Linked DNA regions of Homo sapiens: region 2 is linked to region 1. Evidence: promoter capture Hi-C in human tissues and cell types (Jung and others, 2019). All regions are on one chromosome and are shown on one strand. The core of a region is centred on a gene start or on the middle of the fragment in contact, and the rest is flanking DNA. Distances in the headings are between cores, read along the strand shown.

What was found. Contacts are between HindIII fragments. The study calls those that stand out against the background at their distance.
Region 2: a fragment that was not itself captured here is called in contact with the fragment with the promoter of MNS1 in region 1 in 1 of the 25 tissues and cell types used here (lymphoblastoid cells).

Annotation. Positions count from the first base shown.
Region 1 is chr15:56,463,445-56,467,577 of GRCh38, reverse strand. It overlaps MNS1 (meiosis specific nuclear structural 1), which reads left to right and starts at 2,441. Exons shown (of 10, transcript NM_018365.4): 1 at 2,441-2,608; 2 at 3,331-3,552. The coding sequence starts at 2,606. RefSeq lists a silencer at 2,262-2,511. The HindIII fragment of the contact is 6,259 bases long and covers 1-4,133 here.
Region 2 is chr15:57,514,085-57,518,217 of GRCh38, reverse strand. It overlaps CGNL1 (cingulin like 1), which reads right to left. Exons shown (of 19, transcript NM_032866.5): 9 at 1,232-1,438. Among named protein-coding and RNA genes, the nearest start is that of GCOM1, 76 kb to the left of the region's middle. The HindIII fragment of the contact is 4,559 bases long and covers 1-4,133 here.

The DNA.
Region 1 (4,133 bases), core at 1,192-3,691:
AGTGATAAAAATAAATGAGCTATCAAGTCACATAAAGATTTGCAGGAACCTTTAAATGAGTTTTGCTAAGGGAAAGATGCCGGTCTGAAAAGGCTACATACTGTATGATTCCAAAGATACGACATTCTGGAAAAGGCAAATCTATAGAAACAATAGAAAGATTAGTGGTTCCCAGGGGTTTGGGAGGAAGGAGTGAGGGAGAAATGAATAGGTAGAACACAGAGACTTTTTAGGCAGTGAAACTATTCTGTATGATACTGTAATAATAGATATATGACAATATGTCTCAATTTTCTGACCTCAAGCAACCTTCTTGCCTCAGTCTCCCAAGTAACTGGGATTACAGGTGCAAGCCACCACTCCTGGCCAGATACATGACATTATGTATTTCTCAAAACCCACCTGGGAGCAGTGGCTCATGCCTATACTCCCAGCACTTTGGGAGGCCAAGGTGGGTGTATGACTTGAGGTCAGGAGTTCAAGACCAGCCTGGCCAAACTGGTGAAACTCCGTCTCCACTAAAAATACAAAAATTTGCTTGTAGTCTCAGCTACTTGGGAGGCTGAGGCAGGAGAATCGCTTGAACCTGGGAGGTAGAGGTTGCAGTGAGCCGAGATCATGTCACTGCACTACAGACTGGGCAACATAGCCAGACTTCATCTCAGAAAAAAAACAAAACAAATCCTCATAGACCTGTACAAAACAAAGAGTGAACCCTAATGTCAATTACGAACTTAATCATATTAATATTGGTTCGTCAAGTGTAACAAATGTACTACACTAATATGTAATGCTAAAAATAGGGGAAATTGTATGGGTGCGGTGGGGAGGAGAGGTGAGACGGGGAATTCTCTGTATTCTGTCAATTTTTCTGTAAACCTAAAACTGCTTCGAAAAAGGAGCAAAGTCTATTAAAAATGTAGTAATTGTTAGGATAATTTTTTAAAGGTTAAAATCAGCTAATTGTTACAATTGATTAAATTTGTCTTGGATTTAGGTCAATATTCTGGCCAAAAATCTTTTTCTCAGATTACCTATGAAATTATATGAATCCTTCTACCATATCCAAGGGTATACTGGAAATGAGGAATTATAACTGAAGTTCCCTTTAGAGACGAAAGTCTTCATTTCGAGAAGTAAACAGTAAAAAACATACATGTTTGCTGAAATACTTTGCAATGTCACTATTTCACTATTAGGAATTAACAAATTAAACCCCACACTCTATTGAATGTGTTATACCCTGTTCAACCCTGAACCCATGCCTGTCTCCTGTCTCTTCTATACAGTGCCCAACCCTTTGCGGAGATGGATATGCCAAGAAGAGAAATTTATAGCAGGCTGCCTGCTTTGCTCCATTCCAGATCAATTTACACAGAACACCCAGAGGGCAGGTTTACGCCTTCTCTCCATTTCTCTCAAACAGTGATGGCAATGAGTGGAGTACTAGAGACAACATAGATATGCAACCACGGGATAAATGACCAAAGGACAGAGAGACGAGCGACCTCAGTTGTATGATGGAACCAAGAGAAGTCGCTGATTTTTAGTTGTTTTGATCTGGTTGTAAGGATGGGGTGACAACTTCCAAGCTTTTACACGTCAGCACTGAAACTGCAAGTCCCATTTGTTATTAATCTTTAAGCAGACATATTGCTACAGAAGACGGACTCCAAATTAGAATAACACAAAGTTATACCACTAATCACCTTATACAAATATTTTAGTGTTGACAAGATTTCTCTGAATGTATCATTTCTAAAATCAGTATATCTAATTTCTCTGATCCATTATCATTCTTAAACTTCCCATTTAAAATGGACTTTAGTGTCTAACCTGCCTATGGAATGAACCAGATCAACATCCTGCCATCATGTAACGTGCTCTCTCTTGGTACCTGGACCACATAGCAGAGTAAGATTCATGTGGCTCATAGATTTTAGTCCCAAAATTTACCAGCAGCTTCTGCGGGGGGGGGGGGGGGGCGGGGGGGTGAAGTGAAGGCTGCTGGAAGCTCGTGCTACCCTCAGTGCCTCACAACCCAGCAAAGGGGACAGCGACCTGGACTCCCATTGCTGAGGATTAAACCAGTCATCGTCCCTAGCAGAGACCTGGCTGACTAGGCACTTAGTGTGCGGGATGCTCCATGCGTGGAAATTTCCTTCGGCTCCATGCATTAGGCAGTAGTTTGCGTATTTCTCTGTGCGCAGTCTCCACAGTCCCGAACTTGGCTCCCAAACCCACTGAAACCACAGTTCGGCCGCTGGAGGGAAATCGAGCTTCCCTAGCCCACTGCAAAGTGCTTGGGTCAGGCCACAGTCTGAACTTCCCGCTTTTCTAGTTTAGACCTATAGAAGTAGCCCTCCTGCCCTGGTCCTAAGAAGCTCAATGCCGATTGTATCTTATCGCGTCCAATGGGAGGCCACGTTCTGCGTGGGTCACTTTTGGTCGAGCGGAGGGCGCGCAGCTCCACCGTTGCCAAGACGCCGCGTAAACACCCGAGCGCGCGCAGCCAGGTGCGCTCCTTGGGGCTGCTGGCTGCTGCGTTTGCGGCGGGAGGTGGTGGCCGCGGTCCCACGAGAGGGGGTATTTTTCGTCAGCCAAGATGGTGAGCCAGTTGGGGGACTTGAAACTACTTGTTTATTGTTGATTTAATTCTAGTTTGGCGCTCATCTGCTTCTAAAAAAGGATTTTAAGTGCTTAATCTGGTCATTAATTGGGGAACTTGTATTTGCTTTCGGAGGCTTCAGGTGCTATTAGAAGGGACGCTCGCGGTGGTTTCCAGCTTTTTTGGCACTTTTCGCATAGTGTATTAAATACATCTTTAAATCTGCCCAATAGAACCTCTGAAGAAATAAGTAGATATAAAAGTGTAGGAGAAAGCGAATTGATAAATAGCGGCGAATTGACCTATTACATTTATGTTAGGAAAATCTGACCAGCTTCTGAACAGCACTTTATGGCCCTGTGGTGGTAGTCGTGGTGGTGGTGGTGGTGGGTGGAATGAGGGGAGGAGAAATTCCCTGGTGGTAGTAAAGATCTGGGTCTGTAGGGTGCGATTAATCCTAGCACAGCTATTTATTAGCTGCAGAACCTTGGGTAAAGTTACTTTTCATGTTTCATCTATAAAATAGGTAATAATAACAGTACCTATTTAATCGATATGTGAACATATTTACCACGTTTACTTTTTATTCGGTATACTCCTTTGAATTTAGGAAGGAAGCCAGGCTCTTCGTATCCTTTCTTACTAAGGTTTATATCAATACATTTTTTAAAATTAGATTTTGGAATATCAAAATATGCATCTTTTTTTTTCTTCCATCGTAGGGTTCCAAAAGGAGAAATTTGAGCTGTAGTGAAAGGCATCAGAAATTAGTAGATGAAAACTACTGCAAAAAATTACATGTCCAAGCTCTAAAAAACGTCAACAGTCAAATCAGGAATCAAATGGTGCAGAATGAAAATGATAACCGTGTTCAGCGCAAGCAATTTCTCAGATTATTACAAAATGAACAATTTGAGTTGGATATGGAAGAGGCCATTCAAAAGGTAAGTTTTACTATTCATTGTTACTTTTTTTTTCATTTTGCACCTTGGAAACGATGAAAGTCAGCTGTTAATGCTGGAAATGAGTAGATAAACAACAGCAGCAGGTAAGTGATGCCTGATTGTGCCTCAGCTCGGTGTAATCGTAAAGACCTGGGTTTCTGGAGCCGGCCTGTCTTTGAATCCTACTACTGCTATACCTTAGCTACGGACCCTTGAGTAAGTTGCTTTTACTTTTTTTTTTTTTTGGATGGAGTCTTGCTCTGTCGCCCAGGTTGCAGTGCAGTGGCACGATCTTGGCTCACTGCAACCTCTGCCTCCGGGGTTCAAGCGATTCTTCTGCCTCAGCCTCCTGAATAGCTGGGACTATAGGCGCGCAACACCACGCCTGGCTAATTTTTTAATTTTTAGTAGAGACGGGGTTTCACCATATTGACCAGGCTGATCTCGAACTCCTAACCTCGTGATCCGCCCGCCTCGGCCTCCCAAAGTGCTGGGATTATAGGGGTGAGCCACCGCGCCCAGCCTGCTTTTATTTTTTATGCTTTTTCTATAAAATGGGGAATAAGAATAGTACCTCCTAC
Region 2 (4,133 bases), core at 976-3,475, 1.1 Mb before region 1:
TTTATCTGCAGTTCCAGTTCTCAGGCAGGTGTGAACATCCACATTATCTCGGGTGATTTTTTATTTTTTATTTTTTTAGAGACAGGGTCTCACTATATTGCTCTGGCTGGTCATGAACTCCTGGGCTCAAGTGATCCTCCCTCCCACCTCTCAGCCTCCCAAGTAGCTGGAATTACAGGCATGAGCCACCATGCCCAGCTGGGGTATTTTTTTTTTTTTTTAATAGAAATATCTGGCCTTATTCCTGGAGATCTGAAAACAGTAGGTATTGAATGGACCCCCACACACACAGTTTTATAAAAGGTATCCAGGTGGTCCTGATGGATGACTGCTATGCTTTGAATGTGTCCCCCAAAAAGCATGTGTTGAAAGTTTAATTGCCATTGTAATGATATGAAAAGGTGGGACCTTTAGGGGGTGATGAGGCCATGAGGGCTCTGCCCTTATGAATGGGCTCAAACTGTCATCACAGGAGTAGGTTCCTGGTCAATGGACAAGTGTGGCCCCCTCTGGCCAGTCAGTTCCCCACTCCACCTCTGCCCTTCTGCCATGTGATGCCATTCACACTTCAACACAGAAGGACGGCCCTCGCTAGAGGCTGGCACCTTAATATTAGACTTCTCAGCCTCCAGAACTGTGAGAAATACATTTCTATTTTTCCTTAATTACCCCAGGGTGGTATTCCATGATAGCAGCACAGGACAGACTAAGGCAGTGACCACGTGTGTCTCCTCTTTCATTGTCAGCTGCCCTTTCCTACTGCTGAGAGTGTGCCATCTCTCAGTCACAGCTTCCCACTGCTAGAGGTCTGGCCAACCAGATAATTGGCTTGTTAAAATCAGTGTCACTTCAAAAACATCAACAATGAGTTAAAAAAGAATAAATAGTCTTGAGTGAGAATCGGTCTAATGGTGGTGTTAAGACAGCCCTTTCAGGTGGATGCCTGTGTGAAGCCATGGAAGGCTGGGTATGTCTGGTATCTGGGTGTGTGGGGATTCCTGTGCCTAGACCTGTGTTCCCGCCTGACCTCACCGTCCCTGTTCCCTGGCCTCCCTGTCATGCCACTCCCAGGGGAACAAAGAAATGGCTTGCAGAGAGGATGTATTCACTATTGCCTTGACCTTTCCTACTACATCATGACAATAAATCCCTTCCCCACTTTTGAAATCACTTACACAGGAAAGAAGGAGCAGCAGCTGCCAAAGCTGGGCCTGGGCCCAGCGAGCCTCACCTCGTACTTCTTCAGCGTTTCCTTCGCCTTGGCTTCATCGCCTTTCAGGTCCTCGATCTGCCTTTGAAGCTGAGCAACTCTCCGCTCCAGCTCTTCGCTTCTTCCCTGCAGCTTCTCATTCTCCTCCTGCAGAAGCTTCACGCGCATTTCAGTCCCCGCCTGGTCTTGCTCTGAAGTGTTGCTCCTGCTCGCCAAGACCTCGACATTCTGTTAAAAACACAAAGCAAATGAACAAGGAGACTGATGTCAAGGAGCTGTCCCCAGGCTGGAAGAATGGCTGGCATTTATGAAAAACCCATTGTGCCCACTTAGCCAGGCCCTGTGCTGAGCCAGGGGTCGGCAAACGACAGCCTGCAGGCCAAACCCAGCCCCTCACCTGTTTTGAAAAGCGCAGTGTTATTGGAACATAGCCACGCCCTTCCATTTGCAGACTGTCTGTGGCTGCTTTCAAGCTACAACAGCAGGGCCGAGTGGTTGCAACAGAAACCCCAAAGCCTATGGTGTCACAAAGCCTAAAATGTTGACTCTCTGGCTCTTCATAGAAAAAGTTTGCCAACCCTTGCCTGTGTTAAGATCTTTACACGGGATTTCGACCTTTTAACAATTCCAGAAGGCGGGTGCTATTCTTATCGCCATCTTAAATATGAGGAAACTGACACTTGGATAGTTTAAGTAACTTGTCCAAGATCACTTAGGAGGAACTGCATTCGGGCAGGCTGAATCCAGAACCTGTCCTCATAACCCTCGCTTTCTGACATGTCCACTTCCCTGCCCCATTTGCATGGGCAGGGTCTCTTTTTCTTTCTTTTTTTTTTTTTTTTTTTTTTTGAGACAGAGTCTCGCTCTGTCCCCCAGGCTGGAGTGCAGTGGCGCGATGTCGGCTCACTGCAAGCTCCGCCTCCTGGGTTCACACCATTCTCCTGCTTCAGCCTCCCGAGTAGCTGGGACTACAGGCGCCCGCCACCACGCCTGGCTAATTTTTTTATATTTTTAGTAGAGACGGGGTTTCACCATGTTAGCCAGGATGGTCTCGATCTCCTGAGCTCATCATCTGTCTGCCTCGGCCTCCCAAAGTGCTGGGATTACAGGTGTGAGCCACCACACCCGGCCCAGGGTCTTTAATAGAAGCTCTTGAGGAAGGGCAGCTTCGGAGTACAGATTTTTTTCATGTCCAATATAAAACAGAAATTTAAATTAGCTTAAATTAGGATACAGTTCACAGTGTAAGCTCTAGGTATGCTGCACACAATCCACAACAGAAAGGAATGACAATCTCAGGGTGGTTATTGTTGATTCCAGAGGTCACAGGGGCTTTGTATTCTTCGGTTTAGCAATTTGAAGTGATGGGAAATGGTCCTGCCCCACATTCCACCTCTCCAGGCAGATCTCTTACCTGTCCTCCATTTCTCCACTACTACAAAGATGCCAATATCAGCAAATCTCATGCCTACAACACAATGCTACAGACGCCTGCGATAAAAGAAAGGCCCAGGGAGGACAAGGTTAGGCTTTTAAAGGCTGTATCACCGACCATGTGGGAGAAGTATCTGCTAGAACTGCTCACTTATATAGCCTGTTGGAAAGATCTTTACTTCTCTTAACAGTACAGTAAGCTTATTATCCTGAACCTAACCAGTTAGAGAATTTCAGGAACCAGAGCATCCTTTCATGGCCCAAAGGTTTAATTCTATACAACAGAGAAAGCCCATCGGAGCCAAGCAACTGAGTTAGAATGAAGTTAGCTGGCGTTGCTAGGAGAAAACTAAGGTGTCAGACAGCTGAGACTTCTCAGGTCTATCAGGATATCGTCTCCTAATGAAACCAGCAAGAGGACATGTCACAAAAATATACAGAGGAGAAATAAAGTGTGGTTGAAAACTTGAGGAAGGATCTAAAGAATCTAGTAACTGGTCAGACCAGGGAAAGAAAAAGTCTAGATTGCCCACTTCTGCCCTAACTCTCCTATTAACATGTGAGACAAAGTTACAGTTATCAAGACAGGGCAGTACTGGCATGAGGGAAGGCATATAAATCAATGAAACAGAATTGGGAGTTCAGACATAAACCCCTACATGTATAGCCAACTGCTTTTCAACAAGGGTGCCAAGACAATTCAATGGGGGAAAGAATAGCCTTCAACAAATGGTGCCACTACAACTGGATATCCACATGAAAAAGAAATGAAGTTAGACATCTTCCTCATACCATACACAAAAGTTAACTCAAAATGGATCATAGGCCCAAATGTAGGATCTAAAACTATAAAACTCTTAAAACACAGAAACAAGTATTTGTGACCTTGGGTTAGGCAAAGGCTACTTAGCTACAACACCAAAAGTACAAGTGACAAAAGAACGAACAGATAAATTAAGCTTCTTCAAAATTTAAAACTTTTGTGCTGCAAATGATGCCACCAAGAAAGTCAAAAGACAACGACCAGAATGAAAGGAAATAAAAGTCATATATCTAATGAAGGACTCATATCCAGAATATATAAATGATTCTTTAACTCAGTAACAAAAAGACTTAAAAATGGGGCCAGGTGCGGTGGGTTACGTCATAGTCTCTGCACTTTAAGAGGCCCAGGCAGGCGGATCACTTGTGGTCAGAAGTTCAAGACCAGCCTGGCCAACATGATAAAACCCCATCTCTACTAAAAATACAAAAATCAGCCAGGTGTGGTGGTGCACACCTGTAATCCCAGCTAATTGGGATGCTGAGGCGAGAGAATTGTTTGAACTCGGGAGGCAGAGATTGCAGTGAGCCGAGATGGGACCACTGCACTCCAACTTGGGTGACAGAGCAAGACTCCATCTCAAAAAATAAATAAATAAACAATGGGGAAAGGATCCGAACAGTATATAAAATCCAACATGCATATGAAAACATATTCAACATCATT